Linked DNA regions of Homo sapiens: region 1 is linked to region 2. Evidence: promoter capture Hi-C in 16 types of primary human blood cells and fetal thymus (Javierre and others, 2016). All regions are on one chromosome and are shown on one strand. Each heading gives the region's core, a stretch centred on a gene start or on the middle of the fragment in contact. The rest is flanking DNA. Distances are from core to core; before and after follow the strand shown. Region 1 has its middle 9.7 kb from the start of KCNN1. Region 2 holds the start of CIST1 (colon, intestine and stomach enriched 1).

The links. The method cuts DNA at HindIII sites, captures the fragments that hold promoters and counts their contacts. A CHiCAGO score of 5 or more calls a contact.
Region 1: a contact is called between a fragment that was not itself captured here and the fragment with the promoter of CIST1 in region 2, in 3 of 17 cell types (naive B cells, neutrophils and total B cells). The highest score is 5.4, in naive B cells.

The regions. Positions count from the first base shown.
Region 1 is chr19:17,956,010-17,958,841 of GRCh38, forward strand. It overlaps a transcript of KCNN1 not described here. Among named protein-coding and RNA genes, the nearest start is that of KCNN1, 9.7 kb to the right of the region's middle. The HindIII fragment of the contact is 1,659 bases long and covers 437-2,095 here.
Region 2 is chr19:18,253,672-18,256,674 of GRCh38, forward strand. It overlaps CIST1 (colon, intestine and stomach enriched 1), which reads right to left and starts at 1,691. Exons shown (of 4, transcript NM_001396036.2): 1 at 1,549-1,691. The coding sequence starts at 1,636. It also overlaps a transcript of PDE4C not described here. The HindIII fragment of the contact is 13,123 bases long and covers 1-3,003 here.

The DNA of each region.
Region 1 (2,832 bases), core at 16-2,515, 300 kb before region 2:
ACCTCCACCCTCCACCCCACCGGGTTCAAGCGATTCTCCTGCTTCAGCCTCCCAAGTAGCTGGGATTACAGGCATGCGTCACCACGCACAGCTAATTTTTGTGTTTTCAGTAGAGATGGGGTTTCCCCATGTTGGCCGGGCTGGTCTCGAACTCCTGACCTCAGGTGATCCACCTGTCTTGGCCTCCCAAAGTGCTGGGATTGCAGGCGTGAGCCACTGAGCCAGGCCTCCTTGGTGAACACTGACTGACATCCAGGGTCAGCACTAAGCTGCCCATGGGGGTGTGGAGAAAACAGAGGTGGTGGTCATTTAGTCAATCAACAAACACTGAGCAAGCTAGCTACTGTCTGCCAGGCCCTAGGCTGGATGCTGGGATGCAATAAGGACAAAGGCCAGCCCAGGTCAGCCCTTGTGGAATTTCATGGGGCATCAATTAAGCTTAAGTGTTTTGTGCTGGATACAGTGGCTGATGCCTGTGATCCCAGAACTTTGGGAGGCCAAGACAGGAGGATCACTTGAGCTCAGGAGCTTGAGACCAGCCTGGGCAATGTAGCAAGAACCCATCTCTACAATTTTTTTTTTTTTAAATTAACCAGTGGGGTGGTGCATGTGTGTGGTCCCAGCTACTCTGGAGGCTGAGATGGGGGGATCACTTGAGCCCAAGAGGTCGAGGATACAGTGGGCTATGATTGAACCACTGTACTGTAGTCTGGGTGACAGTGAGACTCTGTCTCAGAAAGAAAGCGAGAAAGAGAGAAAGGGGGCCAGGTGTGGTGGCTCATGCCTGTAATCCCAGCACTTTGGGAGGCCGAGGTGGGCGGATAATGAGGTCTGGGGATAGAGACCATCCTGCATGGTGAAACCCCGTCTCTACTAAATACAAAAAATTAGCCAGGGGTGATGTCGGGAGTGCCTGTAATCCTAGCTACTCAGGAGGCTGAGGCAGGCAGGAGAATCGCTTGAACCAGGGAGTTGGAGGTTGCAGTGAGCCGAAATTGCAGCACTGCACTCCAGCCTGGCGACAAAGCGAGACTGTCTCAAAAAACAAAACAAAACAAAACAAAAAAACAAAAAACAGAGAAAGGGAGGGAGGGAGGGACAGAGGGAGGGAGGAAGGAAGGAAGGAAAGGATGGAGGGAGAGAGAGAAAAAAAGGAGAGGAGAGGGGAGGAGAGGAGAGGGGAGGAGAGGGGAGGAGAGGAGAGGGGAGGGGAGGGGAGGGGATGGTGGGGAAGGGGAAAGGGAAAGGGAAAGGGGAAAGGGAAAGGGAGAAGAGAGAGAGGGAGGGTAGGAGGGAGGGAGAGAGAAAAAAAGAAGGAAGGAAAGAAGGAAGGAAGAAAAGAAAGAAGAAAGAGGAAGGGAGGGAGGGAAGGAAGAAAATTGTTTTGTATTAGGAAGAAAATAGAATATGAGGATGTATTAGTGACCAGAGGAGCAGGGAAGCCTCTTGTAAAAGTCAGAGAGGCCTCTCTAGGGCAGTGATCATGAGCTGAGACTTGAAGGAAGAGGAGGAACTGGCCTGCTGACAGCTGGGGGAACAGCATACCCAGCAGAGGGAACCACATGTGCAAAGGTCCTGAGGTGGGAATGAGCTTGGCGTGTTTGAGGAACAGTGAGGAGGCTGCTGTGGCTGGAACAGAGTGAGTGGGAGAGAGGAGGAAGATGAAGGCAAGATCGGCAGGTAGGAGCCAAGCTACAAGGAACTCAGCGGCTGCAGTGAGGGTGTGGACTTCAGAGCAATGGGGAACCATGGCAGGTGTGTGAGCAGGGGAGAGGCATGGTCTCAGTTAGGATTTTCAGAAGCCCTGTGGCTGCTGTGGAGAGCAGGGCAGGAGTGGAGGTGGCAGGAGCCCAGAGTGGAGGCCCAGGAGATGTCTGGTGGTTTCAGCTGGGTTGGTACCAGGGTAGAGCCTCAGATGGAAAAAAGTGGGCACATTCTGGGACTGGGTTGGGGATGGAGGATGAAATGTGGCCAGGTTTCCATCTCATGCCAAGTAGCTACTGTGAGAGAAGGGAGCACTCATTGTGCTTGGGGAAACCTGGGAAGGCATCCTGGAGGAGGTGCTCTTTGGGCTGAGCCTGGAAGGTCAAGTAGAAGCTTGCCAGCAGATAAGGCTGGGGTCATGTGGGATCTAACTGCTCAAATGCCAGGGGATCACTGAGCACCCAGAATCTGGGGCAGTATAATCAGATTTGTAACCAAGAAAGATCCCTGTAATCCCAGCACTTTGGGAGGCCAAGGTATGAGGATCACTTGAGGACAGGAGTTCAAGAACAGCCTCAGCAACATGGCAAGACCCCATCTCTACAAAAGGAAAAAAAATAGCTAGGCATGGTAGCACACACGTAGCCCCAGCTACTCAGGAGGCTGAGGTGGGAGGATCACTTGAGGACAGGAGATCGAGGCTGCAGTGAGCTCTGACTGCACCACTGCACTCCAAACTGCTGCGAGACAACAGGAGACCCTGTCTCTTTTTTTTTTTTTTTTTTTTTTTGATACAGGGTCTCACTCTGTCATCCAGGCTACAGTGCAGTGATGCAATCTCAGCTCACTGCAACCTCCACCTCCCAGGCTCAAGTGATTCTCGTGCCTTAACCTCCTGGGTAGCTTGGGACTATAGATAGGTGCCTGCCACCGTGCCCGGCTAATTTTTATTTTATTTATTTATATTTTCAATTGTATTTATTTATTTATTTATTTATTTATGAGACGGAGTCTTGCCTCGTCGCCCAGGCTGGAGTGCAGTGGCGCGATCTCGGCTCACTGCAAGTTCTGCCTCCCAGGTTCACGCCACTCTCCTGCCTCAGCCTCCCGAGTAGCTGGGACTACAGG
Region 2 (3,003 bases), core at 441-2,940:
CCTAGGCTAACCTCAACTTTAATGGAAGACACAAAGACACAGGCGCTGGGAACATGTCTCCGGAACCCACCCTTCTACGTGTTGGTCCAGCTACTTCCTGGCTCACATCCCATCCCAGGCATGGAGTCCAGGGACCAGGCTGAGGGCAGGTAAGCAGTTCATGAGCCACCTCCCACAACGACTTCCCACCCAGTTCCAGGTGACTGGGCCTCTTAGGCACTTACAAGTTCATTCATCAACTCTCTGCTCCACCCATGCACTCTGCTCTGGGCCAAACTTTGTGCTTCCTCCTTGACTCACCCTAGGCAGCAGAAATGCGGAAATAACACACAACACTGGCCCTGAGAGGGGGCTGGGTCCACATGCCACCCTCCCCAGATCTCTATGTAGCCCCCCAGGCCCTGTGGGGATGACGGCTGAGTCTAGAAGAGGCATGGAACTCAGGCTGGGCTTCATCCCCATTTGACAGATGAGAAACTGAGGCTCAGAGTAGCAGAGGGTCTGGCCTGAGGTGACTGGGGAGCTGGGAAGAACGCCCCTCAAGGACCCTTGTCCTCTGTTTCTGCTGAAATGAAGATGATTCAGAGGCCAGAGTGGACCCCAAGCCAAGTCAGAATTCTGGGGAGCTGAGTGCTTAGTGAACTGAGGAAAAGCTGTGGACTTGAAAAAGGAAGAGTTGGAGGACACAAGCCCTGTTGAGTGCCTGGCACTGAGTAGGCACTGGTGAGCTGCTGAAGGGTTGACCAGAAGGTAAAAATAAAGATGTTTCTAGGCACTGTGCTGGGTGTTTGCTCTCCCCAGAGACTCCTAGACTGGGAGGCTCACATGAGCCAAGTCAACCAGTTCTAATCTGGGTCTGGGACAAGCTGGACTGAGCCTCAGTTTCCTGAGCTATGAAATGGGGATAAAAGTGGTGCCTTCTGAATGAAACCCTTCCCTGCAATGAGCATTTCAGCAGCCATGGTGGCCTCTGCTCTGCTATTACAGGTCTGTGGGGTAGGACACCGGTCAGAGAGAGTGACAACATAGTGGCAGGTAAAGGGCAGAAAAAGGGAATGCGAGAAGCTCAAGGCTCCTCCCCTCCACCCTAGGCACTGTCTTATAGGAGAGCAAGAGGGAATTAAGTCAGACACCCAGAAGAACTTCTCATGGGAACCACAGATGTTTGATGACCAGGAAGTGAGTCCCTGTTCCCTGGAACCCCCATGGCCCTGAGGTCTTCACCATTCTCCCTTTGGGGATTGGCTAAAAGCAACAGATTTGAAAAGGAGCCCAAAAGTAGGTGTGAGGCCATCTGTGGCCTCCAGCAGGTTCAGGGCTCACTGGAGTTGCAGGACCCACAGCCCCAGGGCTTGGGAGCAGCGGTGCCTCATCTGTCCTCACAGCTGCTCCGTTTGTTTCTGGGGGAAAACCCAGCCTTCCTCGGAGGGTTGGCGGACCAGCGTGGCCTGAGGGAGGGGTCCAGAAGCCAGGTGTGTGACTGGGCTGTGCGTCCCCCACCCCCACCCTTCCGCTTTCTGGAAGCTGAGCCTCTTTACCAGCTCTTACCTGTAAAGGGAGTATTGTAATTCACACCAGCTTTCAGCAGCACCACCAGCACCAAAAGCAGAAGTGGCGGCAGCTGGGGGCACGCCATTCCTGCGCCGGGAGGGCCTGCCACCGGCTCTGCACAGGTGTGTGGCCAGGTGTGTGCCCAGGTGCCAGCTCCTTGCACCTGCGTGTGCGCTCCCTGCTGGCGGAGCGCGGGGCTGTGCAGGGGCAAGGCGCAGGTGGGGCTGCAGGGTGTGGGACCTCCCTGGGGCGCTCCTGTTCCCCCGGGTGCGGTTCTCGCCCTCTTCACCTGGACTCCACCCCTTCTAAACACGACGACCCAGAAGCTCTCAAAGCCAGTCATCCACTAAAGACACCCTGCCCCTGCCGTCCTCTTTCCCCCTGCTCCTGGTTCCACAGCTGCCCAAACCCCTGCTGTCACTCCCTCTGCCCCTCGTCCAGCCAGGTTGTCCCCTCTGGGAGCACCAATTTCTCCCACCTCCCTCCGATCCCTGAACCCACAGGGCTGGGGATGTCCTTGTTCTCTGTCCTCGTCCTCCTCTGTCCTCTGTCTCACCCAGACTGGGGCCTTTTGGGGACATGACTGAAACCTTCTAACCTTCTAGCATTTCTATTATGGATTTCTTTTTCTTTCTTTTATTCTTTTTTTTTTTTGAGACGGAGTCTTGCTCTGTCACCCAGACTGGAGCGCAGTGATGCAATCTTGGCTCACTGCAACCTCTGCCTCCCGGGTTCAAGTAATTCTCCTGCCTCAGCCTCCCGAGTAGCTGGCGCCCGCTACCAGGCCTGGCTAATTTTTGTATTTTTTAGCAGAGACAGGGTTTCACCATGTTGGCCAGGCTGGTCTCGAACTCCTGACCTCAAGTGATCCACCCGCCTCGGCCTCCCAAACTGCTAGGATTACAGGCATGAGCCACCGTGCCCAGCCCTTTTTTTTTTTTTTTTTAAGAGACGGGGTCTCACTCTGTCGCCCAGGCTGAAGCACAGTGGCACAATCACAGCTCACTGCATTCTCAAACTCTGGGATTCAAGCAACCTCCCGCCTCAGCCTCCCAAGTAGCTGCGATTACAGGCGTGTACCACCATGCCCGGCTAATTTTTTTTTTTTTTTTTTGAGACTGAGTTTAGCTCTTGTTGCCCAGGCTGGAATGCAATGGCACAATCTTGGCTCACCACAACCTCCGCCTCCCGGGTCCAAGCGATTCTCCTGCCTCAGCTTCCTGAGTAGCTGGGATTACAGGCATGTGCCACCATGGCCGGCTAATTTTGTATTTTTAGTAGAGACGGGGTTTCTCCATGTTGGTCAGGCTGATCTCGAACTTCTGACCTCAGGTGATCTGCCCACCTCGGCCTCCCAAAGTGCTGGGATTACAGGCGTGAGCCACCGTGCCTGGCCTTTTTTTGTTGTTGTATTTTTTTTTAGTATAGATGGGGTTTTACCATGTTGGCCAG